Linked DNA regions of Homo sapiens: region 2 is linked to region 1. The links are contacts of gene promoters, found by promoter capture Hi-C in blood cells and fetal thymus (Javierre and others, 2016). All regions are on one chromosome and are shown on one strand. Each heading gives the region's core, a stretch centred on a gene start or on the middle of the fragment in contact. The rest is flanking DNA. Distances are from core to core; before and after follow the strand shown. Region 1 holds the start of CCDC116 (coiled-coil domain containing 116). Region 2 has its middle 58 kb from the start of LRRC74B.

Evidence for each region. Contacts are between HindIII fragments. The CHiCAGO score rates a contact against its expected background, and 5 or more counts as called.
Region 2: a contact is called between a fragment that was not itself captured here and the fragment with the promoter of CCDC116 in region 1, in 5 of 17 cell types (endothelial precursors, naive CD4 T cells, M1 macrophages and 2 more). The highest score is 6.9, in endothelial precursors.

Annotation. Positions count from the first base shown.
Region 1 is chr22:21,630,279-21,635,538 of GRCh38, forward strand. It overlaps CCDC116 (coiled-coil domain containing 116), which reads left to right and starts at 2,482. Exons shown (of 5, transcript NM_152612.3): 1 at 2,482-2,549; 2 at 2,842-2,975; 3 at 3,744-4,292; 4 at 4,407-4,988. The coding sequence starts at 2,904. RefSeq lists an enhancer at 2,214-2,713. The HindIII fragment of the contact is 2,744 bases long and covers 758-3,501 here.
Region 2 is chr22:21,101,709-21,106,968 of GRCh38, forward strand. It overlaps the pseudogene BCRP2. Among named protein-coding and RNA genes, the nearest start is that of LRRC74B, 58 kb to the left of the region's middle. RefSeq lists enhancers at 704-1,675, 1,124-1,173. The HindIII fragment of the contact is 889 bases long and covers 1,530-2,418 here.

The DNA.
Region 1 (5,260 bases), core at 1,232-3,731:
GGAAGCCGGGCGCAGTGGCTCACGCCTGTAATCCCAACACTTTGGGAGGCCGAGGCGGGTGGATCACGAGGTCAGGAGTTCAAGGCCAGCCTGGCCAACATGGGGAAACCCCGTCTCTATTAAAAATACAAAAATTAGCCGGGAGTGGTGGCACGCGCCTGTAATCCCAGCTACTCGGGAGGCTGAGGCAGGAGCGTGGCTTGAACCCGGGAGGCGGAGGTTGTGGTGAGCCGAGATCGCACCACTGCACTCTAGCCTGGGCGATAGAGCGAGACTCCGTCTCAAAAAAAAAAAAAAAAAAAAAAAAGAATCTCCTACCCTTCCCAGAGATTGCCATTGTAAACTTTCTGGGTTGTGTCCTTCCAGTGTTTTCTCTAAGCAAATAAACACACCCAACTCCCTTTCTCCCCAACCCAACTTTTTTGTGTGTTGTTTTGAGAACATAAAGATGATTATATCAATGTTATCACATTCTAGTAGTTTCTTAGCAGTGCGAATGAAAATTTTCATATTATTAGCTATTTTTATTCTTTTTCAAATTGCCTATTGATCTTTTGCAGATTTTTCTAAGAGCAGGCATTTTCTTGATTTGTTGATTTTTTTTTTTTCTTGAGCTCTAGACACTAAGAAAATGAAAGAAAGCATATACACTAAGGCTTCATTTGAGAAAACATTATCTCCAGTTTCCATCTTGAGCTCTCTGCCAGGCTACAGCTTTTACATTCATAACTTCACTGTTTTCTCTTTGGTCCAGAAAAGCTTTCCTTACCCATGACTGTATAAATAGTCATTATGGTTGGCAGCCACAGTTTCCATTGCAATGTGACAGTCTTGATTTTTCCCATGGAAAGTGTGGTATTTGTGTCCGGGCTATGAAATTGGTAATGTCATTCCTGTTTCACAGATGAGGAAACTGGGGTTCAGAGAGCGAAAGTGTGGTCCTGCCAGGAGTAGTGGAGCTAAGACTGAACCTCACACCTCGGGGCCAGCACCCAGGCCTGCTATGTCCTCTCTGTCCCTGACCTAGTGGGTAGCCAGAGCTGAGAGGACAGAGCAGAGCTTGAGAGGAACAATATTTCGTGAGGCATGTGAGGATTGAAAGCCTCATAGAGTCCTTCAGCCATGCTCTTGGCATAAGGACTGATGTGTTTATAGTGACTGGTGAATTGTCAGACCTCAACCAACCACCGTTCTCCACTGGAAGCTGATCTTGGAAAGGTCAGAGGTCCCGAGGGTCTGCAGGTGGGAAGGAGGAGACTGACATTTATTGAGCACCTACTTGGTGCCAGACACTGAAAGTATTAGAGATTAAGGGTGACTTGCCTCTGTTCTGGCCCCAAAGAAGCACCATCTGATAGAAAAATAAGTAGCAACATGGTATGGTAGAGTCTGGAATGGGGTTTACTGTGAATTGCGTAGGGCGTGGCAGAATTCACAGTAAAAGGTTTTTGGAAGAAGTGACACCATGGTGGGGTATTACTGAGCAAAGGGGAAAAGGAGGGAGGGAGAGGAGGTAAGAATATACAAGGCTCCGCTGGGCGCGGTGGCTCAGGTCTGTAATCCCAGCACTTTGGGAGGCCAAGGCAGGCGGATCACAAGATCAGGGAATCGAGACCATCCTAGCTAACACGGTGAAACCCCATCTCTACTAAAACTACAAAAAAATTAGCCGGGCGTGGTGGCGGGCCCCTGTAATCCCAGCTGCTCGGGAGGCTGAGGCAGGAGAATGGCGTGAACACGGGAGGCGGAGCTTGCAGTCAGCCGAGATTGCGCCACTGCACTCCAGCCTGGGCGACTGAGCGAGACTCCCGTCTCCAAATAAATAAATTAATTAATTAAAGAATACACAAGGCTCCACTGGGTTACTGGGTGTGCTGTAGGGAGATTTTATTGAATCCCATACTCCCATATTGGAAGAACACTCAAGCCCATTTACAGTGTGGGACTAATGCTGAGAGGTTGAGTCACATTGGCAGGAAAGAGCAGAGCCAGGAACTGAAGCTAGGTCTGTGACTTAGAGCCGGCACTCTTTCCACTGCAGAGGGGAGAGGTCTCAAGGCAGAACCTGGGGCTGTGCACACCGCGGGAAGGGCAGAGGCCCCTGGAAACGAACAGGAGCAGGAGGCCCAGGGCTGCGCAGCAACCAAGGAGGACACGAGGAAGGTGCTTGTGCCACCGGTGGAAGACGTGGCTTTGGCTTTTAGGCTCCCCTCGGGGCAGGAGCAGATCAAAGAGCCTAGCCCCAGCTTCGGTGGTGGGTGGGGGGTCCTCCCGGCAGCGGGGAGCGTGGGCACCAGCATCCTCAGCCTGCGGCTCCCAGGCGAGTGTGGGAGGGCAGAGCCCAGAGAATTGGAGGTGGGGCCAATGTGGGCCCCGCCCCCAACCATTGTGTCGGAGAGGGAAGTGGACGAGCTCCTCGGTAAGAACCAATGAGGATGTGGTATGCAAATAAGCAAGTGGAGGCCGCCAGCCGACTTCCTCGCACTGTGCAGCTGCTCCAGTGAGGGCGCAGACTGTACTGGCCTGTGCGGAGCAAGGCGGTGTTTCTGGTGAGTCTGTTGATTCTGGGCTGGGGTGAAAGCCAGGTTGCCCAGGGTTTGGGAGGAGGGCGGGTCGAGCACACGCAGATCCAAAGATGATCGGAGACAGGATTGTCCTCAGCGATTCCACCCCGATGACTCTGGAAACTGCCTGCCTGCAGACGCATGGGGGCCATGGAGCAGAGGAAGGGCTGGATGCATGAAGGAGGCGGGGTGCGGGGAGCGAGGGACCCGCAGACTCCAGGGCCACAGATGCGTGGACCTATTGGAGACCCTCAGGTTGTCTCCCCACCCCACGCAGAGAGGAATGCGCAGCTGAAGAGAGAGGTGGGCAGCAGGCCCGGTCACCTGCCAGGTGACCACATGGCCAGGTGCCGCCACCACTCGGGTTACCTGGCCGATGACGAGGCCAGCCACTCCATGTGCAGTGCACGGGTAAGTGTGCCCAGCAGGGCGCCGACCCTTGAGGCCACAACATGTTCCCCACCAACCCTGGCACCCAAGACCACAACCCCCATTTCTCATTGTCTATTGACTTCTCTGGGCCTCTTAGTGAAGTCCTTATTGCCTTGACTTCTCCTATGTCCCCCACTGCTTGCCCCTGTCACACTCAATTTCATTCCTTGTTTCCTCCTGACTTCCAGCGACCCAGAAGGTGCTTGGGTGGACTGGGACCCTAGAGTGGGAGCATGGAGTTGACTAGGTGCCTATGGCTCAAGTTGGAGAAACAGGCCCGGGTAGCACAGGGCTCAAGACCTCAGGTGTTGTCTGCACTCAAGACCTCAGATGTTGTTTGCAGCCCTGCCATGGATACAGGGATGGCCTGCTGCATGGACAGATGAGGAGCTGGAGGGAGACTCCGAGAGATTCATGATTGCTCATCCTGCCACGTGTCAGGGCAGAAGCAGGCTTGCAGACTCCTTAGCCAGGACTTGTGTGTGTGAAATGTAGGTGTTAGGAAAGCTTCGGGGTGACCCTGAATAGACCTCCACTTTGCAGATGAGGACATTGGACCTCAAGAGGGGCCATCTTGCACACTGGCATCAGGCTGTAGGTGGCAGAGCCAGGGTCCAAACCCAGGGCTTCCAGACTCCAAAATGCAGCTCCTTCCACTACTCACTCCCACCCAGGTCCTAGTGTTACCCCAGGGAACCCTTCACCTGTAGGGCACCCCTGCCCCCTGTGACATACCTGTCTGCTCAGGTGCAGCTGCCCAAGAAGCCACTGGTCCCAGAAATGCGGCCAGCCTGCAAGCCGGGCCGTGTGCCACACCCACCATCCACATGTGGCAGCTCAGCACTCCAGGGCCAACGCCGAAACAAGAGGCACCCTCAGCCCTTTGGCCACTTTCTGGATTTCCTAACTGAGAGCCAGGTCCTGGACAGCCTGGAGACAGTGGTGGAGAAGGCGACTGAGCGCATGGCTGCCATGAAGACGGAGGCTGGGGTGCCGCTTGTGGAGGTGCAGGACCCAGTGGAGGTGCCAAGTGGTGGACGGCGGGCACATGCCCGGCCCAGCCTCAGCACCGTACACCGGCACCGTGTACGGCCGACCCTCTGCACTGGACACCCCAACAACTACCCATCCAGCTCCAGCTCCATGTCCAACTGCCATAGCAGCCTCATGGCCGGCTGTCTGGGCTCCCACAGCCGGGACAGTGACCTAGGTGCCCAAGGCTCATTGCCACCTGTGAGGGACAAACTCCTGCTGGAGAAGAACCTCAAGCGGCTGCTACAGCTGGAGAGGGAAGGGGTGAGAGCCAGGGCCATGGCTGGGTGGGGTGGACTCCCATGGAGAGCCCAGGGCTAGGGTCAGCCCTGGCTTGGCTGCTCCTGAACACTTCACAGAGTCACCCTCTTTCTGCAGAAAGGCCTCAGTCAGTCCTGCTCCCAGAGGGACTCCCTGCTGTGGGATTCGCTGGGTAGCCAGACCAGCTTTCAGTGGACACAGGAGCAGCCCTTGTCCTGGTTCTCAGGGCTGCTGGGCTCAAGCTCTGGCGTGCCTGAAGCATCAGAGCCGAGGCCTGGAGAACAGGAGCCAATCTTCCGCAAGCGAGAGTTCAATAAGGAGATCAAGTCATTACTGAGCCAGCTGGAGTCCCTCGACCTGCCTGGCTACTGTCCGCTCCGTGAGCCCCATCGCACGCTGAACTTCCTGGCTGACCACCGCCTCTTCCCTGCCCTGCAAAGCGTGGTCAGCCAGGCTGTGGATAAGCTCCGTGGCGCCCACTGCCGCGACGGCCGTCCTCTGTTCCCCACCAGCTTGGAGCCCACCTCAGATCTGCCGCCTCTGGGCTCTGAGCCAGCTAAACCCACCAATGGCGGGCAGCCCTATGCTTCCCCCCGCCCCACAGTCTCCAGCCCCAAGATGCTTCAGAGAAAACGCAAGGACAGAGGAGGCTCCCCCTCCATGTCTAGTGCCCAGGTGGCCACCAGATTCAAACTCAAGGTGACACCCACGGAGAAGCCCAATGTCCCCAGCCCCTCACTCCACTCCAGGGAGGAGGCACCTGACTCAGATCCCAAATTACAAAACCCACCTGTTTCCCTGAGCTCCAGCCAGAGGGCCCAGCCCTGGCAGGGCCTGCACCTCACCCTGCCCACGCCAGGGATTGTGGTGGAGGTGGCCTGCAGCCAGGGCCACCTCAGGGGCCCTGTCACACCTCCACTTTCCTCCCCCTACCCCCGCTCTTCCTGCTACCTTCTCCCTGAGCTCTCTCC
Region 2 (5,260 bases), core at 724-3,223, 530 kb before region 1:
TAATCCCAGCTACTTGGGAGGCTGAGGCACCAGAATCACTTGAACCTGGGAGGGCGGAGGTTGCGGTGCTGAGATCATGCCACTACACTCCAGACTGGGCGACAGAGTGAGACTCTGTCTCAAAAAAAAAAAAAAAAAAGTGACATAATTAAAAGAGCCATCATCTATGGCCTTTAAGTGTCATGTGTGTGCTCATCTTTCCTTGCTTTACTACTCAAAGATTATCTTTTCCATGTGACCTGCTCTTTCCTGCCTCTGTCACCACCAAACATCAAAGCCTTAAGTTTTGTTTGGCTGTTTGTTATCTCTTGAGAATTGAGCACCAGAGCTATTGGGTGGGCTTGATGTTGACCTACAATGCAGGATGTCTGTGGGCATGACTCTCTCCTAGGCACTCACAGACACTTGAAGCTGGGGACTGAGGTCCTCTAGTGTGTGTCTGTGGGGGTGAAGGAGTGCACCCTCATCCTCCTGCACTTTCGGGTCTTGTAGCAGCAACTCCCTGTTTCTGTCCTTTCTACTTACTGCTGGTTTCATCACACTCCCAGGGTTAATTTAAAGAACCAGCCTCGGTGTGATGCACCTACAACAAACAGAGCCACTTCTGTGGGGAGCTCTGGAGCTGGGATGGCCCCTCAGAGTCTAGAGGTGGTGAGAGCGCTGGAGCTTCATCACCGTGCTAACTGTGTCCCTGGAAGAGTGAGGGAGCTTGAGTGATTCCTTACCCAAGGGCCGTCATAAAAGGTCTCAGCTGATGCCTACTGCCGATCACATTCAGCTATTTGGGAAGAGATGTTCAGTCCTTAAGAGGACATTATTAGTGGACATCACTCTTTCCACAAAAGCCCCAGTCTTGTGTTACTTAGTCCCACTAGCTTCTTTAAAGAAACCCCAAGAGCATTTCCTCCAGGAATCTGTTTGATCTCTTTTCCTGGGGGAGATTTCCAGGTGATTCTCATTGGAATGAATCCTAGGTCCTGTTGCTGCTGCTGGTCTCACACTGTGACTGATGCTAAGTCCTTCTCTTCCACCACCATTCTGGATTTTCCTTGCTATAGCCTAAGTGTTTATGTCTCCCCAAATTGTCAGCGTTGGAGCACCAAGAAGACAGGCAGCACTGACAGTAGCAGAAGAGTAGGAGGTGGCTGTGGCACCCCACGCCGAGCAGGAGCGGGAGGAGTTCCTGGGCGATGGGGCCGCAGCCTGGGCCGATGCTGACCATGGGATGAGATCATTCTTCACTCTGCACCGTGACCATCAGGGGGCGCCCCAACCACCTTTTCTGCCCCACATCGTGCTCTTGCAGTGTTCTCCCCGCAGGTGCTGCATGGAGTGAGTGGCGGCATCCACCGTGAGGAGGAGAGGAGCTCTGATACCCTCAGGACCCGCCAGGAGGGGCATCACGGAGGCTTCTGGACGACTTGGAGCTGTGTCCTGGGGAGAAAACCGCTCCTGTCTGGGCCCTGAGTGCTGAGGAGGAAGCTGCCATGCACTTTTCCCTGGCATTTTTCCTGCATGGTGAGTACAGAAGCTTTAGTTTTCTGGTATGTTCTGTTCATTCCTCTCCTGTTCTCCCTGGTTTTCCTCTTTCTCTTGTAGTGTTTTAGTATTTATTTTACAGTGGTATTCATTCTCTGAAGGCTTTTGAGGGTGTCAAGTGTAGCAGACTGTGGTATTTTTAGGGGTTTAAGACTTTTTCTGGGTGGGGGGGAGGGGGGAGGGATAGCATTAGGAGATATACCTGATGCTAAATGACGAGTTGATGGGTGCAGCACACCAACATGGCACATGTATACATATGTAACAAACCTGCATGTTGTGCACATGTACCCTAAAACTTTAAAGTATAATAATAATAAAAAAATCTTGGTTTTTATTAAAAATAAATAAATAAATAAATACATTTCTAGTTCTGAAAAAAAAAAAAAAAACCAAACCAACAACAGAAAAAGACTTTTTCTGAGGGAACCTCCCCTGTGTAGAGGGAGAGAGAGGGAAGCCCCGCTCAGGTTGGAGTCAGGGCCAGGCCCAGTTCTGGCTGGCTGCCTCGTGTCCAAGCCTCAGAGGGAGGATTTGCATTGGGCCTTGCTGCATTTTTAAATCTTCGTTCCTGCCATCAGGACCCAGGGGTCACTCTTCTTCACTTTTGGGCAGCGCGTGTCCTCTCGTGTCCCTCCCACCGTGGCCGCCTGACCAGGGGCGAGGGACTCCTCGGTGTGGGTTTTTTGTCCTCTTTGCAGAAATGTCTGTTCTGGGCCTCTGCCCAGTTTGGGGTGGATTATTTTTTGTTGTTGTTTTAAATTGCTATTTAGTACTGTTAATGTGTTGTATATTTTCGGTAAGAACCCCTTAGCAGTTATATGATTCCTCAAAACTTTCGTCCAAACTTCGGGCTCATTTTTTCCGTTGTGGCACAGAAGCTTTTCAGTTTCTTGTAGCCTCACATGGTTGTTCTTGCTTTCCTTGCTTGTGATTTTGGTCCCCAATTTAAAAAAATCATTCACAAACCATTCCATTCTCCATGAGGTTTTTACCCCTTATGTATTCCTCTTTTTCTTTTTGAAACTCTTTCCAACTGATGAGCATGGATTCAAGTTGTCCTGAAAGTAAGCTCCCCCTATCTTTTCTTACAGGAATTTAATAATGTTTTGTGGTTTCAGGTTTTGTGTTGAAATCTTTAATCCATTTTGAGTTGATTTTTGTGTATCGTGTAACAGAAGGGTCCTATTTCTTTTCTTTTCTTTTTTGCATATGGATATCAGTTTCCTCAAAATGATTTCATGAAGAAACTCTCCTGTCCCCATTGTGTCTTTCTGATCTCTGGTGCCGATTTCATTTGCTCTGGAGTTATACCCAGTAGTGGGATTGCTAGATCTTACAGTATTTGCATTTTCTGTCATTTTCTTTGAGACGGGGTTTCTTCTGTCACCCAGGCTGGAGTGCAGTGGTGCAATCACAGCTCACTGTGGCCTCTACCTCCACAGCCCAAGCAGCCCTCCCACCTCAGTCTATGGTAGCTGAGACCACAGGCACACACCACCATGCCTGGCTAAGTTTTTAAATTTTTTGTAGAGACAGGGTTTTGCCATGTTGCCCAGGCTGGTCTCGAACTCCTGAGCTCAAGTAATCTGCCCACATTGACCTTCTGGTAATTGTATTTTCAGTTTTTTGAAAATGGCAACTTCCAACTTTTTACCATAGAATATGTACTAATTTATCTTCCCATCAACAGGGTATAAGAGTTCCCTTTTCTCCAAATCCATACCAGCATTCTTTTTAAAATTTTGTGGCCAGGAACAGTGGCTCATGCCTGTAATCCCAGCACTTTGGGAGGATGAGGCATGGTGGTGTGCACCTGTAGTCCCAGATACTTGAGAGGCTGAAGTGGGATGATCACCTGAGCTAGGGAGGTCAAAGCTGCAGTGAGCTGGGATCACGACACTGCACTTCAGCCTGGGTGACAAAGTCTGAGTCCCTGTCTCAAAAAATTAAAAAAAAACTTTTTAGTAACATTTATTTCAATAAAAGTGAAACGGCATCTGAATGTGGTTTTGAGGTACATTTTTTTTCTGATGAGAGACGTTGAGGACCGTTTCTCTTACATGTTGGTCAATTTTGTGTCATCTTTGCAGAGATGTCTACTCAAGTTCTTTGTATTGGTTTGGATATGTATTTTGCTACATTGTATTTTTTTTCTGTGTATATGTTTGATAACAACCAGTGATTGAGTTATCGCTTACATGATTCCCTTTCTTTTTTTTTTTTTGAGACAGAGTCTCATTCTCTCACCCAGGCTGGAGAGCACAGTAGCACATCACATGACCATATATATTGGCTACCTACAGCTTTGCAATGTAATTTGCTATCAGGAATTGTGAGTCTCCCAACTTAGTTTGTATTTCTCAGGATTCCTTAGAGGTTCAGGGCCATTAGTGGTTCTATGTGAATATTAGCATTTTATATTCATATTTCTTAAATTTTTGCCATGTATAATAACATACACAATTAGAAGTTATGCTGGGACATGTTTTTTTCTTTGGGGACATTTTGATACATGTATACTTTGAGTAATGATCAAATCAGGGTACTTATCATAACTATTCCCTCATTGAGGTATTATTTCTTTGTTGTGAGTACATTCAAATTGCTCCCTTCTAGTTTTTTGAAAAATACAATATTTTGTTAACCAGAGTTACCCAGCTGTGGCATAGAAAACCAAAATGTGTTTCGCCAAACTCACTGTAACTTTGTTTCCATAACCGATCCCTCCCATCCCCCTCCTATCCCCCTCCTTCCCCTCTCCTCAGGAAACCGCTACTGTACCTTCTGCTTGAAGGTAAAGTTTTTTGGATTCCATATAAGTGAGATCACATAGTGTTTGCCTTTCTCTACCTAGTCGATTTCATTTAATGTAATGTCTTCCAGGTTCGTCTGTGTTTTTGCAAATGACATGTTGTCATGAATTTTTATGCATGAGGCATATTTCATCATGTCTGTATGCTGAAGTCCCTTCATCCTTTCATTGGTTGGTGGACAGGTAGGTTGATTTCATACCTTGGTTACTCATTGTTAGTGAGTAGTAGGTCACTAAACCTCAGAAGGCAGCTGTTGCTTCAACAGACCGATCTCATTTTCTTTAAGCTCACAACCACGGTTAGAATTACTAGATGAAACAGTTCTTGCATTTTTAATTTCTGAGGGTGCTCCAAGTGGTTTTCTCAGTGCGTTTCATCATTGAAATTTCTCCCAATAGTGTATAAGAGGATCTCTATATCTAACAGCACCCTGAACTTTTATTTTTAAATTATTTCTGTTTTGGTATTATTCATTTTACTTAGCGTTAGATAGTATCTGAGTGTGGTCTTTATTTACAGTTTTGTGATGACCAGTGATGTTGAGAAACACCTTTTTTACCTTTTAATCAATATCATACCTTCTTTTCAGAAATGTCTGTTATTCAGGTTTTTTTGCCCAGTTTTTTTGGGGGTATTGGGTCTTGTATGTTTTGTCCCTCTGTAGTGTTAGTTTCTGCTGTTGTCAGATAACACTCCCTTTCAGATATATGATTCCTCATAATTTCCTTTTTTTGATGTGTAAAAAGATAAACCTATTGTGGCAACAGCCAAGAACGGTAATAATCAAATGCAGGAATTAGGTGCCATTTATATTTCCCCACTCAGAGTATAAGACTTCCTGCCTCACAGAAGTAAATGAGATTTTTCTGTGCATATAGTAAAATTTTACTTTTCATATTTTAATT